Regions from separate parts of the Homo sapiens genome. Here region 2 is linked to region 1. The links are contacts of gene promoters, found by promoter capture Hi-C in blood cells and fetal thymus (Javierre and others, 2016). All regions are on one chromosome and are shown on one strand. The core of a region is centred on a gene start or on the middle of the fragment in contact, and the rest is flanking DNA. Distances in the headings are between cores, read along the strand shown. Region 1 holds the start of CD300E (CD300e molecule). Region 2 has its middle 3.5 kb from the start of CD300LF.

What was found. Contacts are between HindIII fragments. The CHiCAGO score rates a contact against its expected background, and 5 or more counts as called.
Region 2: a contact is called between a fragment that was not itself captured here and the fragment with the promoter of CD300E in region 1, in 1 of 17 cell types (monocytes). The highest score is 5.8, in monocytes.

What each region holds. Positions count from the first base shown.
Region 1 is chr17:74,621,622-74,625,506 of GRCh38, forward strand. It overlaps CD300E (CD300e molecule), which reads right to left and starts at 2,117. Exons shown (of 4, transcript NM_181449.3): 1 at 1,961-2,117. The coding sequence starts at 2,000. The region is part of intron 3 of LOC101928343 (a long non-coding RNA gene); the gene reads left to right. The HindIII fragment of the contact is 4,294 bases long and covers 1,459-3,885 here.
Region 2 is chr17:74,714,442-74,718,326 of GRCh38, forward strand. It overlaps a transcript of RAB37 not described here. Among named protein-coding and RNA genes, the nearest start is that of CD300LF, 3.5 kb to the left of the region's middle. The HindIII fragment of the contact is 1,734 bases long and covers 1,160-2,893 here.

The DNA of each region.
Region 1 (3,885 bases), core at 867-3,366:
ATATTGGACAGCAATCAGTTCAGAATGGAAATACCAGATGATGTGGCAGAGAGGTCAGCTATTTTGTCACTATTACTAGGTTAGCCTTATTCTTGACACCTCCATGGCCAATGGAAAGAGCTCTGTGGAGGACACAGATCTGGACTTCATTTCCAGCTTGTCTACTTAGTTCTTATGTCATCAGATCTCCCTTCATCATCTTATTTATAAAGTGGAGTCAATGCTATTTGCCCTGCCTGGGTCACAAAACTGCTCAGAGGGTTAAATTCTATCATCTATTTGGAAGTGTTTATAGGTTATAAAAATGTGTAATAAATAGAATTCTAGTTTTGCTCTTTTTAAATTTTTTACTTTTCTTTTTTTGTAGAAATGGGGTCTTGCTATGTTGCCCAGGCTGATCTCAAACTCCTGGGCTGAAGCATTCCTCCTGCTTTGACCTCCCAAAGCACTGGGATTACAGGTGTGAGCCACCTCACTCAACCAACGTTTGCTTATTTTGTATTTGAATTTGCTTCCTTCCTCTTTGTCATTTCCCCTCCCTGCTAGAATTGCCCTTTCCATCTCTCTTTCCCAGTTAAGATTTTCAGAGGGACCTGCGCAGGTCACATTGCGAGTCTGAGGATGGGGAATGAGATAGGGGTGGAAAGAGAGATGGAAAGGGCAAAGAAAAAGGAAGCAAATTCAAATACAAAATGAGCAAACATTGGTTGAGTGCAGTGGCTCATGCCTGTAATCCCAGTGCTTTGGGAGGTCAAGAGAGGAGGATTGCTTGAGCCCACGAGTTTGGGTCCATGTCACCTACCTGGTCTTCTTCCTTTAAATCGCTGTCATTTTCACTCACCCTTCTAGAAAGAATCTTGTCATTACATTGGGCAATTTCTATGTTTTGTGAGGGAACTCAACCATAAAATTCATTCTGCAAACATGAAGAATGTCCTCTAATTTTTAGCCTAAATTTATTTCCCCAGAGACAAATGTGTTTTCCTGCAGTTTTGTATTTTGAATGTCTATTAATAAGAGTTTCTCTTCTGAAGTCCAACCTTTGCAGGACAGTTTCATTTACTTGTTTACACCACACCTTGTTCCGGGAAGGATTTAAGGTAGATGTTGAGGATGGCATTTTTTTTTTTCAGACAGGATCTCAACTCTATCACCCAGGCCAGACTGCTGCAGTGGTGCAATCTCGGCTCACTGCAACCTCCGCCTCCCAAGTTCAAGCGATCCTCCTGCCTCAGCCTCCCTAGTAGCTGGGACTACAGGCATGCATCACCACGCCCAGCTAATTTTTGTATTTTTAGTAGAGACAGGGTTTCACCATGTTGGCCAGGCTGGTCTCAAACTCCTGACCTCAGGTGATCCACCCACCTTGGCCTCCCAAAGTGATGGGATTACAGGCGTGAGCCACCACGCCCAGCCCATTAATTATTTCTCACAAACCATTCCAACCCCTTTACACTAAGCTTCGTCAAAACAGAACTATTGTTAATTCTTGAACTCTCCATGGTCTTTAATGTCCTCACACTTGCACATAAGCTATTCCTTTCCCACTCAGCCAACTCATTCATCCTGCAGGATGGACTTCCAATGAAGCCTCAGTGACATCTCCCACCCTTCCAAGAGCAAAGTGAGGGGTTCCTGTTGCATACTCTCATCACCACATGAATGAGTCTCTACAACAGTAATTTCCACATTGTATTGTAGTTAGTTGACTCCCTCAGTTCAGAAGTTACTCTTAATTACAGCACCCAGAACAGTCCTGGCACATATCTGGTGCTCAGTAAGTGTTTGTAGGATCCGTGGATGAATGATTGAATGTATAGAAGGATGCACAGGTGAATGAACGGATGTATCTTTCCCTTTTCTGTGGACACTTCACCTCTGGTTTGAACCCAGGACAGCTCTTCTACCTACTGTCCTGCCCCCTGCAAAACCAAGTCCCCAAAGCCACAGCCCCACTCACCTGAGAGGCAGAGAAGGAGTAGAGCTGGGAGCAGCCACATGTTCCTGTCTCCTTGGCTTCCGTCCTCAGCAAATCTAGGTCCCAGCTGGAATCCAAGTATATGTAACGGAGCCTGGGTCATCCACTTTCTACTTGTCCAAGTTTCCTTTGTGTTCTCACTCATCTATTTCCTCTTTTGCCTTTTAAAGAATGCTTCCTAATTTTAAGCCTTACTTAGCAGAAGAGAAAGGGTGGCAAGAGACGTTTCTGAGAATGGACCAAGCACAAACAGGAAAATCTGTTGGCCTTCATTTAATGTGAACGTAATGTTTGAGTCACCCCCTGAGATTTCATGACTCGGAATTTCATGAAAGTCAGTCCCAGTTTACGAAACCTCTCCAACAGAGAAAACTCTGTTCCCTGCCTCTTTCACTCTTCTTCCTATCTGGGATTACTTCATCGATCTAAGGAGCTTCCCTTCTCTATGGCTGCCTACTTTTGAATCATAAAACACCCTCTACTTAAGGAGCTGTGGTGATCACTCCCCATGTCTTTCTCAACCGTTATCTCCATGCGGATGACTTCACACCTCTTCCTCTAACCCAATATCCCAATATCTCTCCTGGGCTCCAGATCCTACTTTCTAACTTCCTATAGGGAAGCTCCACCTGGTTATACACTGTTAACCTAGTTCAGTATATGGGTCATGGTCAACAGCATAGATTCTGAAGTCACACAAACTCAAATCTCATCTCCATCATTTATTAATCATCTGACCTTGGGCATGTTGCCAAATCACTCTCCTCCTCAGTCTCCTCATCTGTAAAATAGAGTACTCATGACAATTCTTTCTCAAAGGGTTGCCACAGGAAATAAATGAGTTAATGTAAGTAAAGTGCTTGATACAGTGCCTGGAACATAGTAACTGCCCAGTTAATATTAAATACCTTTAGAATAGTCCTGGACCATTGAAATAGCTTCTCATCTGGTCCCTCCACTAGCTATACATTCTCTCTAATCCAACTTGCACATCAGAAGATACTCTTCTCTAAGACATAGCTATCTGAAAATATAATTTCTTTCCTTCTCTTTCCCCAGAGATACCCATCTTTGATACCCACAGCCTCTAATCTTTACTATCTTTTAGAACTCTACTGGATCATCTGATATTTCAAACTTTTGTTGTAAGAGCACAACTTCTTATCTTTTCTGTACCACCATATCTGATGAAGTATTATATAGCCAGGCATGGTGGCACGTGCCTGTAATCCCAGCTACTTGGGAGGCCAAGGCAGGAGAATCACTTGAACCCAGGAGGTGGAGGTTGCAAAGCAATGAGCCAAGATCACACCATTGCACTCCAGCCTGGCAACAGAGAGAGACTCCATCTAAAAAAAAAAGAAAGAAAGATGAAAGAAAGAAAGAAAAAGAAAGAAAGAAAGATAGATAGATTATATATAGAATAGAGCCCTGGATGGAACAATAAAACACCAGGACCCTGGTCCCATGTGTGACATGAGCCACACACTTGAGGGATCCAGAATGAGCAGAGCTGACAGTAGCCACAACATTGTGTCTTAGTCCATTTTCTTCTACTATAACAGAATACTACAGGCTAGCTAATTTATAAAGAACAAAAGTTGGCAGGTGCAGTGGCTCATGCCTGTAATCCTAGCACTTTGGGAGGCCGAGGCACGTAGATCACTTGAGGTCAGGAGTTTCAGACCAGCCTGGCCAACATAGCAAAACCCTGTCTCTAACAAAAATACAGAAATTAGCCCTGCATGGTGGTATGAGCCTGTAGTCCCAGCTACTCAGGAGGCTGAGGTGGGAGAATTGCTTGAACCCAGGAGACGAAAGTTGCAGTGAGCCAAGATCACGCCACTGCATTTCAGCCTGGGCGACAGAGAGAAACTCTGTCTCAAATAATAATAATAAAAAAGAAC
Region 2 (3,885 bases), core at 777-3,276, 93 kb after region 1:
CAGAGAGGTTCAGAGAGAAGGGAGATGCAAGCAGGGAACTACTGGCCCACTGACAAGAGGCGCTTTGTCCTGAGAACACGAAGGAAGCTCCTACTGCTGTACCCCAGCCCACCAGGTGAGATCCCAGGGATACCTACATCTGGAATCTTCCAGAAACCTGTCCATTGTACCAGGGGGTCTACCTGAGGAAACCAGTTCATTGCTCAGGACTATTATCCCCTCGCTCCACCCCTCACCTTATAACTATTTGTTGAAGGAAGGAAGGAAGAAAGGAAGGACCAGTTTTGCCCCTCACTCTCCTCCTTCTGACAATCATGTCCATCCCCCATCTCTCCTTTCCCATCAAGACCCCAGCAAGTCCCTAGGGTCGGGACTGGGGATATAAAAGGATTAGGAAGGGCCAGACTCAGTGGCTCACACTTGTAATCCCAGCATTTTGGGAGGCCAAGGCAGGTGGATCACCTGAGGTCAGGAGTTCGAGATCAGCCTGGCCAACATGGCAAAACCCCGTCTCTACTAAAAATACAAAACTTAGCCGGGTGTGGTGGTGGGTGCTTATAATCCCAGCTACTCAGGAGGCTGAAGCAGGAGAATAACTTGAACACAGGAGGTGGAGATTGCAGTGAGCTGAGATCGCACCATTGCACTACAGCCTGGGCAACAAGAGTGAAACTCCATCTCAAAATAAATAAATAAATAAAAATAAATAAAAGGATTAGACCTTTCTCACCTTCTGCACCTGGAGCCACTTTTGCCATGTGTCACATACACCCTGTGACATCTTGACAAGGGAGTGAGTCTCAAAGAGGGACGCAACCCCCTCACACCCTAATCAGGAATGAGTGGGTGTGCAGAGGGTTATTTGCACAGAAAACCACAGCAGCTGATAAGCCATGGCTTTTCCAGGACGTGGCCAGAGATGGCTTCTCGCTTTACATATCTGCAGACCATAAAGTAGGTCAAGAATCCGGGGTGAGGGCTTGGCCAGCCCTTTGGTCCCTGCTGCATGTCAATAGGTCCTCTGCCCAGGGCACCATGCAGATACTCAGAGAGCAATCAGCCCTCTGCAGTAGGGAAGCCATTGGCTTCCAGGAAAAAGGACCAGGAATGGGGGCTGCCCTGAAAAACAAGGGGCAGATGCATCGAGGGTGGTGGGGTAAGCTTTCTTCTCCTGGGCATGAGCAACAAGGAGGGAACAGCACTGTCTGTTAGAACTGCCTGTGGCCAGACCCTCTGATCGTGGCCTCTCCCAGACCTGGCCTCCCCAAGAAGGATTCCCCTTTGAAACAAGAACAGAGAATTCAGGCCGGGCACGGTGGCTTACACCTGTGATCTCAACTCTTTGGGAGGCTGAGGCAGGCGGATCACCTGAGGTCAGGAGTTCAGGACCAGCCTGGCCAACATGTCGAAACCCCATCTCTACTAAAAAATACAAAAAATTAGCCGGGCATGGTGGTGGATGTCTGTAATTCTAGCTACTAAGGAGGCTGAGGCAAGAGAATTGCTTGAACCCGGGAGGCAGAGGTTGCAGTAAGCCGAGGTCACAACACTGCACTCCTCCAGCCTGGGTAACTGAGCAACACACTGTCTCAAAAAGAAAAAGCAGAGAATTCGCCAAGTGGTTCTGAGTAGCTGCTCCTCTAACCAAGTGCCTATGGGGAATACAGGGGAATCGGCTCTTCTGCAGGCCTTGCGTCCTCAAAAACTCATTTGAACCTGTAATCCTGGTTTGACCATTGACCTATACACAAGCCAGTTATATCCCTGGGCTTCCCTGTCCCCATATGTGAAAGCAGGGATTAGACAGGTCATCTGAGATTCTCCCTGCTCTAACGCACCTATGTATGTATGTATGTGTGTGTGTGCATGTATGTACGTGAATGGTTGAACCTGTCATTCTGCCCTGGCCTTGTGTGCTCTGCTAGGGGACTCTGTCTAGCACCTAAGAACCAGTCTCTGTTTTTATAAATCATAATTCTTCTCAGAAACCATTCCTGAGCCCTTTTAGTTCCCCTCACTTCCAATTGCACTTTATCTTTCCCAACCACTTGTGCTATGTTTCATATTTTCCATCATTATTACATTGAATCCTCACTATAAATCTAGAGGAAAGGTGATGCGTTTCTCATTTTTCAAAGAAATTGAGACGCAGAGAGCAAGTGACGTGTCCAAGGTCACATAGCTAGTAAGTGGCAGAGCCAAGATTCAAACCCAGGCCTGGTTCATATAAGCCATGCTGCCTTGTGTCAGGGTCAGGGAGGGGGCAGAGAAAGAGAGAGAGAGAGAGAGAGAGAAAACAGCCCTTAGATCCTGCTCAGTGCTGACAATGAAGAATTGATAAAGCAGAGAATCCCGGAGCTGGTTGTCACCAGGGCGTCCACTCCAAGGTTGTTTTTTAAACAAATTTCCTGGCCGGGTGCAGTGGCTCACGCCTGTAATCCCAGCCCTTTGGGAGGGCAAGGTAGGCGGATCACCTGAGGTCAGGAGTTCAAGACCAGCCTGACCAACATGGTGAAACCCTGTCTCTACTAAAAATACAAAAAATTAGCTTGGCATGGTGATAGGTACCTGTAGTCCCAGCTGCTCAGGAGGCTGAGGCAGGAGAATCACTTGAACCTGGGAGGCAGAGGTTGCAGTGAGCTGAGATCGCACCATTGCATTCCAGCCTGGGCAACGAGAGCGAAACTCTGTCTCAAAAATAAAATAAAATGAAATAAAACAAATTTCAGAATGAAAGAATGTTTTATCATGCACTGAAAACTGACTTATTAAGCAGGTAACTGATACCACCAGCCTTGAACATTTTCCAGATCTCATGCCCCTCTTCTGCAGTGTATGGAATGGGAATCTGGGCCTTACCCAAGTTCTTGTCCAGGAATTCAGGCACAGGCAAAGCTTATTTCTGAGAAAAATAGGCGTCTCCAAAGAGTGAGTCTGAAAGTTTGTGTCTCTCGAATTTCATACGTTGAAACTTAACCTTCAATGTGATGGCATTACGAGGTTGAGCCTTTGGAGAGTAACTAGGTCAGGAGAGTAACTAGGTCTCCTGAATGGGATTAGTGCCCTTATAAGAAAGGCCCCAGAGGGCTGGGCGCGGTGGCTCATGCCTGTAACCCCAGCACTTAGGGAGGCCGAGGCAGGCAGATCACCTGAGGTCGGGAGGGAGTTCAAGACCAGCCTAACCAACATAGAGAAACCCCGTCTCTACTGAAAATACGAAATTAGCCAGATGTGGTGCATGCCTGTAATCCCAGCTACTCAGGAGGCTGAGGCAGAAGAATTGCTTGAACCTGGGAGGCAGAGGTTGTGGTGAGCCAAGATCGTACCATTGCACTCCAGCCTGGGCAGCAAGAGCGAAACTCCATCTAAAAAAAAAAAAAAAAAAACAGAAAAGAAAAAGAAAGGTGCCAGAGAGCTGCCTTGCCCCTTCTACCATGTGAGGACACAGCAAGAAGGAGTCCTCCCTGAGGAGTGGGTCCTCACCAGATCCTGAGCCTACCAGTGCCTTGACCTTGGACTCTCCAGGCTCCAAAACTGTGAGAAATACATTTCTGTTTATAAACCACACAATCAGCAGGGCATAGTGGCCCACACCTGTAATCCCAGCACTTTGGGAGGCCAAGGCAGGCAGATCCCTTGAGATCAGGAGCTCCAGACCAGCCTGGCCAACATGGTGAAACTCCGTCTCTACCAAAAGATACAATTAGCTGGGCATGGTGGCACGACCCTGTAGTCCCAGCTACTTCGGAGGCTGAGGCAGGGGAATCACCTGAGCCCAGGAGACGGAGGTTGCAGTGAGCCAAGATCGTGCCATTGCACTCCAGCCTAGGTGACAGAGTGAGACACTGTCTCTAAAACATCATATCATATCATACATCATATCAT